2 separate regions of the Homo sapiens genome follow, and region 1 is linked to region 2. Evidence: promoter capture Hi-C in 16 types of primary human blood cells and fetal thymus (Javierre and others, 2016). All regions are on one chromosome and are shown on one strand. The core of a region is centred on a gene start or on the middle of the fragment in contact, and the rest is flanking DNA. Distances in the headings are between cores, read along the strand shown. Region 1 holds the start of ACTR10 (actin related protein 10). Region 2 holds the start of L3HYPDH (trans-L-3-hydroxyproline dehydratase).

Evidence for each region. The method cuts DNA at HindIII sites, captures the fragments that hold promoters and counts their contacts. A CHiCAGO score of 5 or more calls a contact.
Region 1: the fragment with the promoter of ACTR10 here is called in contact with the fragment with the promoter of L3HYPDH in region 2 in 5 of 17 cell types (naive CD4 T cells, total CD4 T cells, non-activated CD4 T cells and 2 more); the score reaches 7.5 in naive CD4 T cells.

Annotation. Positions count from the first base shown.
Region 1 is chr14:58,198,337-58,204,491 of GRCh38, reverse strand. It overlaps ACTR10 (actin related protein 10), which reads right to left and starts at 4,343. Exons shown (of 13, transcript NM_018477.3): 1 at 4,198-4,343; 2 at 1,565-1,637. The coding sequence starts at 4,274. RefSeq lists enhancers at 3,961-4,150, 4,771-4,900 and a silencer at 4,311-4,700. The HindIII fragment of the contact is 4,366 bases long and covers 3,985-6,155 here.
Region 2 is chr14:59,482,243-59,487,991 of GRCh38, reverse strand. It overlaps L3HYPDH (trans-L-3-hydroxyproline dehydratase), which reads left to right and starts at 3,584. Exons shown (of 5, transcript NM_144581.2): 1 at 3,584-4,183. The coding sequence starts at 3,676. JKAMP (JNK1/MAPK8 associated membrane protein) reads right to left here and starts at 3,475. Exons shown (of 7, transcript NM_016475.5): 1 at 3,399-3,475; 2 at 1,188-1,279; 3 at 164-318. The coding sequence starts at 3,402. It overlaps LOC124903326 (a long non-coding RNA gene), which reads right to left and starts at 157. Exons shown (of 2, transcript XR_007064196.1): 1 at 1-157. RefSeq lists an enhancer at 3,230-3,509. The HindIII fragment of the contact is 9,651 bases long and covers 1-5,749 here.

The DNA.
Region 1 (6,155 bases), core at 3,094-5,593, 1.3 Mb after region 2:
GCAGCCTCAACCTCCTGGGCTCAAGTGATCCTCCCACTTCGGCCTCCCAAGTAGCTGGGGACTACAGGTGCGCACCACCTCCACGATTTTATTTTATTTTATTTTTTTGAGATGGAGTCTCGCTCTGTCGCCCAGGCTGGAGTGCAGTGGCGCAATCTCGGCTCACTGCAAGCTTCGCCTCCCGAGTTCACGCCATTCTCCTGCCTCAGCCTCCCAAGTAGCTGGGAATACCAGTGCCTGCCACCATGCCTGGCTAATTTTTTTTTTTTTTTTTAGTAGAGATGGGTTTTCACTGTGTTAGCCAGGATGGTCTCGATCTCCTGACCTCGTGATCTGCCCGCCTCGGCCTCCCAAAGTGCTGCGATTACAGGCGTGTAATCTGCCCAGCCCACAATTTTATTTTTAATATTCCCTAAGACAGCCTCCAGCCACACTCAGCTGCCTGCCAATCCTATTTAAATTTTGTGGAGGCATCAATTATTGTTTTTGCTAGTCCTCTGATTACAAAGTTACACAGGTTTTATATGGACTACCTCAAGCTTATTTTTCCCATAAGCCTGTTTTGTTTTGTTTTTTAAAAATGTACCATTTTGCAGAACAAAGGTATTTTCTGGAATGCATATATAATGTTACTGTGGTAACAGCTACATCTCATTTTTTAACAAGTGAATTTTATAACATGCAAAATCATTCTTTCTACTGGTTGTAATTTCTAATCTGCCAAATTAGCTGTGGCAAGAAACTTTTTGAAAGTTTGTTTTCAAAATTCTCTGGGTTTTGAAACTGTAAATAAGGGAATAAATATCTGATATATTATAAATAATAAAATAATTCAGTGGTTATAAGACTTATAAAAGTATTTTACTGAAGTTAAAATTTTTCTCTTGATATATGATTCCATTTACATAAAATGTACAGAAAAGACAAATCTATAGAAACAGAAGGTACACCCTAATGGGCTGAGGATAGGAATGAGGATTAATTGTAAACGGGTATTAGGGATTTTACTGGGGTGATGAAAACATTCTAAAACTGGATTGTGGTGGTACTTGTACAACATGATATACTTATGGTGTGCAAAATTAGACCTTGATAAAGTTGATTTAAAAAGAAAAACTTTTCCTTGGAAATATAGCCACAAAGTATATATTTAGTACTGTTTCTTGTTTCTTTTTTTTTTTTTTTTTTTGAGACGAAGTCTTGCTCTTGCCCCCCAGGCTGGAGTGCGATGGCTTGATTTTGGCTCACTGCAACCTCCGCCTCCCGGGTTCAAGCAATTCTCCTGCCTCGGCCCCCTGAGGAGCTGGGATTAGAGGTGCCTGCCACCACTCCCGGCTAATTTTTGTATTTTTAGTTGAGACAGGGTTTCACCATGTTGTCCAGGCTGGTCTCAAACTCCTGATCTCAGGTGATCCACCCGCCTCAGCCACCCAAAGTGTTGGGATTACAGGCGTGAGCCACCACGGCTGGCCTTTAGTACTGTTTTAATCAATCTTACTTGAAGTCATATTTTAAAACATTTTATAGTATGGCATTTATTTTGCTAATATTTTTTTTTAAATACCTTAGGCATCCCAGCTCTTTTTATCACACTAGGAATTATACATCTTGGACCAGTTTCTCCAGCAAATCCACACCTGCAAATAAATGGAAAATTGAAACAACTTATAGTATTCTTTTAAATATTTGTCACAGAAACTAATTTTCTCTGTATTTGTTTCAAAACAATGGCCACAATAACATTTGAAAATACCTGATGTATTTTAAGGGATCAAAAAAAATCACTCCACAAAACTAATAATACTATTTATTAATGCTTGTGTATTAACAGAAAAAAATTCTATGAAATTCGTGATGCTGAAAAAAACAAATGTATTATTTTAGGGCAGCATTTACTTTTTTTTTTTTGAGATGGAGTCTGGCTCTGTCACCCAGGCTGGAGTGCAGTGGCGCGATCTCGGCTCACTGCAAGCTCCGCCTCCCGGGTTCACGCCATTCTCCTGCCTCAGGCTCCTGAGTAGCTGGGACTACAGGTGCCGGCCACCACGCAGGGCTAATTTTTTTTTTTTTTTTTAGTAGAGACGAGGTTTCACCGTGTTAGCCAGGATAGTCTCGATCTCCTGACCTCGTGACCCGCCCGCGTCGGCCTCCCAAAGTGCTGGTATTACAGGCGTGGGCCACCGCGCCTGGCCAACTTTTTTCCTAGTTGTTAATTTTAGCAGAATTTAGGCAAGACATATCTACAACTCTGAATCTGTACTACATTATGTGACTTCATTCATATAATTCATCTGTATCACTCATAATTCCATCATTCTAATATTGTTAGCTTCCATATTGGTGTATTCACTTTCAGTCTACTTCTTATGATTATGCATATATATTTGACATAGTTTTAATCACACTTCATACATAATTAACTCATACAGTAAGCTTCTGCCCATATTAACATAATCTTCATTGCTATCACTTTTTTTTTTTTTTTTTTTGAGGCAGGGTCTCGCTCTGTCGCCCAGGCTGGAGTGCAGTGGCACAAACTCAGATCACTGCAGCCTCCGCTTCCCAGGCTCAAGCGATCCTCCCCCCTTGGCCTCCCAAAGTGCTAGGATTTCGGGCACGACACTACCGCCGGCTAAATTTTGTATTTTGTGTAGAGCTGGGTTTCCCCATGTTGCCCAGGCTGGTCTTGAACTACTGGGCTCAAGTGGTCAGCCCGCCTCAGCTTTCCAAACTGCTGGAATTACAGTATTATTTTTAAAACCACATATTTCATTATTTTAAAAACGATGCTCTTTTCTTGAGTATTTAGGTATTTCCATTTTTGTTTCATGTTAGTAAAACAAAAATTTGCTAAAAACGTTGCTAAAAATGATCATCATACTAGTTTAGTCTTAACATCCTGTCTTCTTGTCCTGTCTAGTTTTTGATACTGCTCTCCTCGTATTCCCAAATAATTCTCTCCATCTCCTCCTATTCCCGTCTCCATGTTTACTTGCATCAGTGCTCCTCAAACATCTCAGAATGCAAGCCATTAGACTTCAATTCCTTTTTTTTACTTCATACATTTATCTTATCATCCTCCTGCTGTCTTTTTCAAATATAGCTTTTTGCTTATTTCTTCCAAGTACAGCCAAAATAATTATCTTTGACTAGAAGCCTCGAACTGTTTATTACGCTTTCAAAATAATTTTAATAAGAAAATATAAATAAGGAAGGGCCTCGCATAGAACAATAAGAGAATGTCATTAACCAAGGACTATGTTTAATCCAATTCTGGAGTTCCTGGGGTCCAATTTTTAAATAGGCTCTTTTAACCACTTAGTCAATAAATAGTTATTAAATACCTACTACACGTCAGGAAGTGCCTAGAGATATAAAAAGATTTTTCAAATGTTTCATTTTCATAAATACATATATGATGTAATTGCCTGTTACTTCCCTCTCTGTTGAGCCCATCACAAGGACTCTTAATCTAGGGTCCCAGGACCACATTGATTGTCTGCCAATTCCCTGAAACTGTGTATAAGTACCTTAAGATTTGTGCATTTGTGGTTTTCATCCAGCCATTAAAGAGATCTATGCCATCCGAAAGGTTGAGAACCTCCTCTCTATTGTTTACAAGTTGGTTTGTTTAAAACATGTCAAATCTAACCTTCGAGTTTAGGGGAGCCAACAAAGGATTTCCAGAATCTTATCTATAGGGTTTCACCTCTTAATGTGCCCAGTCTCCCTAATTCTTGAGCAGCGATAGCCCTGTCTTAAACATCTTTCCATTTTCAGCACCAAAATAAACTCCGTTCAATATTTTATGATGAAATTCGTCATCGAGCATTTACATTCGGTTGGCTGCCTTCCTCAACTGAGGAGCCCAGGGTAAGCGGGGTCTAGGTCACGGTTGTCATCCCCTACACAGATGATCCCAAAGGGTTTGTTGGGTTTGGGGTGATGACAAGGGGCGGCGACGAGGGCAATTCAACAGAAGCTTTCTGGGCCTCTCTGGGAGTCAGACCCCGATCCTCGGATTCGCATCGCCCAGGGAGGAAATAATAAGAGCTGTTATTTGCAAGGGCGCTGGTTGAAGAAAAGGGGAGGCCCGGAGCTGCCCAGCGAGTCGGCGATGAGGACCCAGGCAGTGCCTGGGGCTCTGCCACCCGCCCTCCCCTCGGGTCGAACACAGCTGGCGTCACGGCCACTCACTTGGTAAAGGCCTCTCCCAGGTCGATCACGACCGCCGTCTTCTCCCCGCCGCTCCCCAGGCCCTCGTAGAGCGGCATGGTAGTAAGGCAGACTGAGAGAAGAGGGTCGCAGTCTCCGCGGCCAACAAGTCTCGGCGCTCGCGGGGCGGGGCCGGGGCTCCGGCGCTCGGGCGTCGGCGACGGCGGGGGCCTCGCGCGGCCGCGGCGCGCCGGGCCCGGGCTGTCCCAGGCTGTGCCTCATTCCGCGTTGGACCCACCCTTGCAGGTGCTGCCGTCGCCAGGACTAGGGGAAAAGAGGCGCTGGCGGGCGCGAATCCGAGTGCGGGGGCGCGGAGGCCGCGGCGATCAGGCGCGCCGGTCGCCCTGAGGGGGCGGAGCCGGCCTCCCTATCCTTCCCTCCCACCACGCCCCAAAGCCGCACCCACGCGCGGCTGTGAAGAGGTTCGGTCTCAGCTCACTGTGAAGAGGTCACTGAGGACCTGGCTGCCAAGGGGCAGCCGAGAGACGACGCAATTCCGAACCTTTGATTCATGCTCTTGGGGGGCAGAAGATGCTGAGACCCTATTCTGTGCTAGGCGTTTTGCCTAATATTTAATCTTCTCAAGAAATAACAAGAATATGTGTTTTCTTATCTGTGGGGACCGACGCTCAGAGAGATTAACTTTCCCAATGTCCCACGGCAGAGCCAGGAACAAACCCACAGACTTCCTAATTGCAAAGCCTATGCTAATGATGCTTTAGAGAATAATACGTACAGACAATACTTTAGTTAGTAGTCTTTCTGAAAGTTTTTATTTTACTCCAGAATTAAGCAGCTAGAGTAGCGTCTGTGAATCTTGAATCTGTCCATAGAGGAGCGGTCGGGATGGTTTAATAGAAGAAACATTGAAGCAAAGGCCCCTATTAGGTTGGTGCAAAAGTAATTGCTGTTTTTGCCACTACTTTTAACATTTACATTACTGTTTACATCTTTGTCACTTCACAGCTTTCTGTGAAAATATTTTTTTCCTGCAAATATTAGCTCTAACTGTATCTATGCATAGGAGTGGAAAAGACTGTCAAAGGAGAGGCTGTGCAATAAGAAAAGAGGTTCAAGGGTAAATCGGTGAGGACTAGCAACATTTAGCTGGTGTACTGGGTTGAATGATGCCCCCCCCCCCAAAATTCTTGTCCACTGGGAACCTCAGAATGTGACCCTATTTGGAAATAGAGTCTTGGCAGATGTAATCAAGTTAAGATGAGGTTATACTGTATTAAGATGTCCCAACTGTCCGAGCGCAGGATCACACCTGTAATCCCAGCACTTTGGGAGGCCGAAGCGGGAGGATCCCTTGAGCCCAAGAAGTCTAAAGCGGCAGTGAGTCGGGATTGTGCCGCTGCACTCCAGCCTGGGCAACAACAAGAGTGAGAGCCTGTCTCTCAAAAAAAAAAAAAAAAAAAAAAAAGGCCCTACTCTAATGGTTGGTAACTAGAGTTAGCGGGGTAGTTGGGGATAAGCTATTTCCATAACAAAAACTAAGGCTGTAACAATGCAGAAATTTGGAATGTGATATTAGTAAAATTCATGTTTAAGTCCAAATTACTGATCAATGATCCTCCTTGAAAGCAAATTCCTGGAGACAGGAGAATGAAGTTGGAGTTGTGACGGGGAAGAAAACTTTAAGAAACGTGGGAAGAGATTAAATTTTTTGCTTAATAGAGTCAGATTATTTGAATAGGACCCCTTACTTGAGTTCAGATTCTGTTTCTGCCACTTTCTGTCAAGTCCCTAATACCTCTGATCGTCCACTTCCTTATCTGTAAACTGTTCTGCTGCTTCACAAGGTATTTGTAAGGATCAATTTGAAATTATGTTTCTGAAACTATTGAAATGATGAAGTTTGTTATTACCTATTCTATGTTTTCCATGACAGCTCACCAGCTGTATTTGTTAGCTAGGGACTGCCGTAACAAAGTACC
Region 2 (5,749 bases), core at 2,335-4,834:
CTATTGTTAAGTTTTCTTGTCACAGTTAAGAATAATCTGAAGATAAAGAAAAACATGTTTACCACTTTTAAAACAGAAGAAGCATAATTACTTAATAAGGTCTTCTGAGTGATAATTATTCCAACATTAGTCCAGCCAGATATGTTCATAGAAATGTGCTAACCTCTTTTTCCCCGAGTACCATTCAATGAAGAACCAATGTAAAACCAGAGGAAGCATTGCCATAAATCCAAGATAGAGCCAATCATAAAGTTCAGGAGATTCTGTGCAAGGCTGACAATATTTCTGTGCATTCGTTCTCTGTCCTCTTGGGCATACCTATAATATATAAAACCAATATTTTGTGTACAGATATTATTTTACAACATTAACACCCCCCCAAATCATTCTATAAGACATCCCATTTCAGTTTAAATATTTAAGTTTACATGTGCAGCTTTTAGAAATAAAAAAGAGGGCATAAGTAAAATAAAAAGAAATCTATATTGTATGTGCTATATTTGTACAATGCTCTTAGAAGATTCCTTTTACTAAGTTACTAAAATAGTTGACTAACATTCAATGAAAAACCTAGTTATTAACATTATATAAGAATAACTGCAGATAAATGTTCTGGATTCATGATGTTCAACTTACTGTACAAGACACGGTACCAAATCATAAATTAGAAATTATTATAAAATTATTAAATGTTTTAAAAAATAATATAGACATCAAAATGCCAACATGAACAATGACTATATTAATGCCTCCATATTCTTTTATATTTCCTTATTTTATTTTTTTTTTGAGACAGAGTCTCCCTCTGTTGCCCACGCTGGAATGCAGTGGTGCAATCTTGGCTCACTGCAACCTCCACCTCCTAGGTTCAAGCAATTCTCCTGTCTCAGCCTCCCGAGTAGCTGGGACTACAGGCGCACACAACTATGCCCAGCTAATTTTTTTCTATTTTTAGCAGAGATGGGGTTTCACCATATTGGTCAGGCTGGTCTCGAACTCCTGACCTCAAGTGATCTACCCACCTAGGCTTCCCAAAGTGCTGGGATTACAGGCATGAGCCACTGCGCCTGGTCCTCCATATTCTTTTATAAATTAATGAGTATAATAACAAAAAATGTTGTATGTGAAAATATTTCAAAAGCAAATAGATTTTACAAAATGAAATAAGATACAAACATAAGACTTACCCCACATTCTCCATATATTTCAGTTGAGCCATTTTTAAATAATAGGGTCTTCCCACAATAAAGTCCAAGGCATGCTGGTTGAATATCGACAGCTTTTTAAAAACAAATGCCAGTATAGTAACATCTTTTGTGATTATAAAAAATAATTGCAATAATAGCTGAAGCATTTGGCAAAAATAACAGTTTCAAATTTTTGAATAATATGTATTAGACAAAAGTCTTGAAGCATTTTTAAATTTACATTTCTCCTTTTACACTGTGACACTGCAGACAGTTATCCTGGAACCTTGCTGTTAATACCGTGCCTTATGATTAAGGTCCTCAACCAGCAGAGCAGGATCTATCTCCAGGACTCAAAGCCTAACCCGGTATGATTAGAGGATACTTCTGAGTTTAACTGATTATAAAGTTCAAATATACATATATTTTTAAATTAGAGCACCAGTAGAGGGTCACCACCTTGTATTTTGCCCAGTCAGGACATTAAGCACCCACATGTAGACACACAATTATCATTATCACCTATGTTCATAACAGAACACATTTTCACATGGGAAAAGCAGAGAGAACATAATTTCATAACAGAGGTATGCAAATTACCTTTATAAAAAGTTTCCTACATTGTCCTAGCTTTTATCATTTTTGTGGAGGATAAGTGAAAATTTCATCAAGGCTGTCACTGGGCCAATATTTTAGAAACCACTGCATTAAAATTAAGCCCCTGATCTAAAGGCTTAGGGGAAAAGCAGCTATTCCTTACTTAAAAAAACCCCAACAACTAAGAACCTAATACGTTGTCTTTGACCTTATTCACAAGAAATTATGGAAGTTTTCTTCATCAGTGACATCTGATTCCCTTCATTCATTCATTGATTAAAACAAACAAACAGGCTCGGTGAGGTGGCTCACGCCTGTAATCCCAGCACTTTGGGAGGTCGAGGTGGGCAGATCATGAGGTCAGGAGTTCCAGACCAGCCTGGCCAAAATGGTGAAACCCCGTCTCTACTAAAAATACAAAAATTAGCCTGACGTGGTGGCGCGCGCCTGTAGTCCCAGCTACTGGGGAGGCTGAGGCAGGAGAATCGCTTGAACCCAGGAGGCAGAGGTTGCAGTGAGCCGAGATCGCGCCACTGCACTCCAGCCTGGGCTACAGAAGGAGACTCCGTCTCAAAACAAACTGCGGTCTACATGTGAATTAATTTGAAAAATTATGCATCTTTTGACTATTCTTGAACAATCATTTCCCAAATTATTCACGAATTCACAATCTAGACTGCCTGGTCTACAGTGCCTTCTCTCCTTTCACATTCAAGCAGACTTTTTACTTCCTTCTCCTTATGCTGCTGAGAGAAAAAGAGAAACAGCATTGAATAATATTCCTCCAGTTTAATATTTTCGCTTTTAACAAATTTCGGACTTAGCTTTTTAAACCCACTGGCCTCTTTAATGGGCGCTTATTTTTTTTGTAACCAATTGTAATCACAATGTTCTAAATTAATACATGAAAATGAATATTTCAGGTTTTTCAAGAATGCAGAAGGTAAGGAATTGGAAACTTCTGTATGGGCTTTACATCTAGTAGATGCTTAATAAATACACGTGAATATCAATAATCTAAAGTTTCTCAAAATCCAAGGCCTGAAAACCAGTATGATAAACTGAACTGAAATAAACAGCCTATCACTTACTAAGCAAAACCCAGGCTCCAAGCGACTGTTGAATTTCTCCTTTCATTTCCTTTAGCGAACGATGGCTAAAGTTTTAAGATTCCATTTTTTTGCAGCGGTCCTGCCCTTTGTGACGGGCGCTATAAATCTACGTTTGAGGTTGAAGCAGTAGACAAATTATGCAGCAACTTGCTTCTGCTTTACTGTTTTTTCTGCACTATCACCCGCGTTTTCAATTCCGAAGTCAACCCTCAAGCAAGTGTTCCCTCGACATTAAACTAAGGGACTGAAGAGACATTTCGGACCAAACAACAAAGACCTGGCATTTCGCCGCAGACAGCGCGCCTCCCCTAGTAGCCCGTTGCGGACAGACCACCCCAACCCCGCAGGAGTGCGGAGCCCGGCCCGAGGGCGGGCGGGGTCAAGGGGCGAGCCTGCGCCGCCAACCGAAGGCCGCCTACAAAGAGCCGAGCCCGAGGCCAGCCGTGTAGGAAAGTAGTCGGGACTACCAGAAACGCTTCCCGGGATCTTGGCGACCACTCACCCATGGGCCGCCTGAAGGTTTTTTTCGAGAAGCACTAGATCAGCGGATCTGGCAGCTGCACCGAACATCCGGGCCACAGCGAGCTCGGCGGCTCCGCCTCCCGGTAACCCGGGCGACAGCTCCGAAGTTCCTCCCTCGCTTCCGGGTTTAGGCTCCGAGACCCCGCCCCCCGGACGTGGCTGGTTAGCGTCCCGCCCTCCTCCCGCGGAGTCAGTGGGTGAGGGTCGGGCTTGAAGCCATAGCTGCGGGACCGTACTCGTCTCCCCCGACGCAGACCATGGAGAGCGCGCTGGCGGTGCCCCGGCTGCCCCCGCATGATCCAGGGACGCCGGTGCTGTCGGTGGTGGACATGCACACGGGCGGCGAGCCCTTGCGTATCGTGCTGGCGGGGTGTCCGGAGGTGTCTGGGCCCACCCTGCTGGCCAAGCGGCGCTACATGCGCCAGCACCTTGACCACGTGCGGCGACGGCTCATGTTCGAGCCCCGAGGGCACCGGGACATGTACGGGGCGGTCCTAGTCCCGAGCGAGCTGCCGGACGCGCATCTGGGCGTCCTGTTCCTGCACAACGAGGGCTACAGCTCCATGTGCGGCCACGCAGTGCTGGCGCTGGGCCGCTTCGCTTTGGACTTCGGGCTTGTGCCGGCGCCCCCTGCGGGCACCCGCGAGGCCCGCGTCAATATCCACTGCCCCTGCGGGCTGGTGACCGCCTTCGTGGCATGCGAGGACGGCCGCAGCCACGGACCGGTGCGCTTCCACAGCGTCCCGGCCTTCGTGCTGGCCACAGGTAATGGGCGGGACCTTTCCAGCCCAGGGCAGAGCTGCAACCGGGACGCGACTAACTACATTAACGGTTTTTCTGGGCTGGAACTCTGGCAACTAACCTACTCCGCGAAACCTTGCAATTAATAGAAAGGTAAATCACTGCCAACGTGTGTCAGCAGCCTTGCGTATTTGGTGCGTGTAATTTCGATTTTCCCTGACTCCCATCCGCCTGTGGTTTTGGGAGACCCTTGAGGAGCGAGGAATTGCGTGTTACCCTGACTCAGCGCCTCCCTCTGCACTGGTGAGGCATTCCTAGAGATTTCACCGGTGGATAAAGCAAGGTACGGTGGGGTCAAGGAAAGAGCGAAGAACAGCCAATGTACCAGGGTTCCAGGCTGGCTGAGAATATGCTTGGTAGACACAGAATCACACTTAATAAGTTACTAAACCTGGTCTCCTTTCCTCACCTCCCCCACTTCTTTGAAGAATTAAATGAGAATGAATGAACAAAGCAGTTTATAAATCATTAAGATACGAATGTTGCTTTTCTTTAAGAACAGGAACACACATTGCCTGGTTTCAAATCCTGATAACCCCCTAAAGCTGTGCAACCTTAGGCAAATTACTTAATCTCTCTGTGCCTGTGTTTCTTCTTTTCCCTCATAGAGTTTTTTTGTTAGGATTAAATGAGAGTATGCAAGATACTGTATTCCTGGAGATAGATTGCAAGGTTTATATGATCGCTAAAGTTCCCTAGGCCTATTGAGCCATTAAAAGGTTTTGCTGGATTCTCTAGTACAGATCCTTGTACAGCTTATCATGTAAAGCAGGGCATCTCTATAACCATAACCCTTACAGGAGGGATGACCTGGCAAGCTGGCATCTGGTTTCTCATCAGACTACTACCTCCCAGGAGCTGAATTCTATCAGTAAGAATGCTTTAGTCATTGTGACTGGAAGTGAGCCAGGAGCCAGTTTACCAGGAATAGAGTTATCCTTTTCTTAAAAATCTTCAAGCCATGCAAATCATCTGTTAGAAAGTTGGACCTTGATTCCCCCTGAAGAACTAGGTTTCAGATTAGCCTGATTATGAATGATAACTGATAGAACAGGCACTTTTAGAGCAACCTTAGGCAGCTGAAATCCACGAGTTAACGAAGAATGCCTCTGGAGAAATTGATGCCATTTTCCCAGAGAATGGTGTCACTTCCAGACTGGGAGGCCACTTGAGGGAGACAGAATTTATGTTTACGATTCCATTTTTAAAACCTCAACAGTTTAACTAGCGTGGCTACCAGAATTCCCCCTAGGCAACTCCAGCAGCAGAGTAGAAACACTCTAGACTTCTGTAGGAAATGGCAGCTGGCAGCAGGAACACAAACTACATCTCATTTCTGGGTCAGTTAGGGCAGGGTCAGTCAACCACTTGACCTCAGTAGTTCCTCTCAGTAGTTCCTGAGAGCATCACTGTATGACAGTACAATGATTAGTGGGCATTAATGGTCACTGAGTTAAGAAAATGAAATGCTATATTCTCTACTTTGAAAAATGCATACAAGGCAGACATAGTGTTCAAGGTCACTGCCCC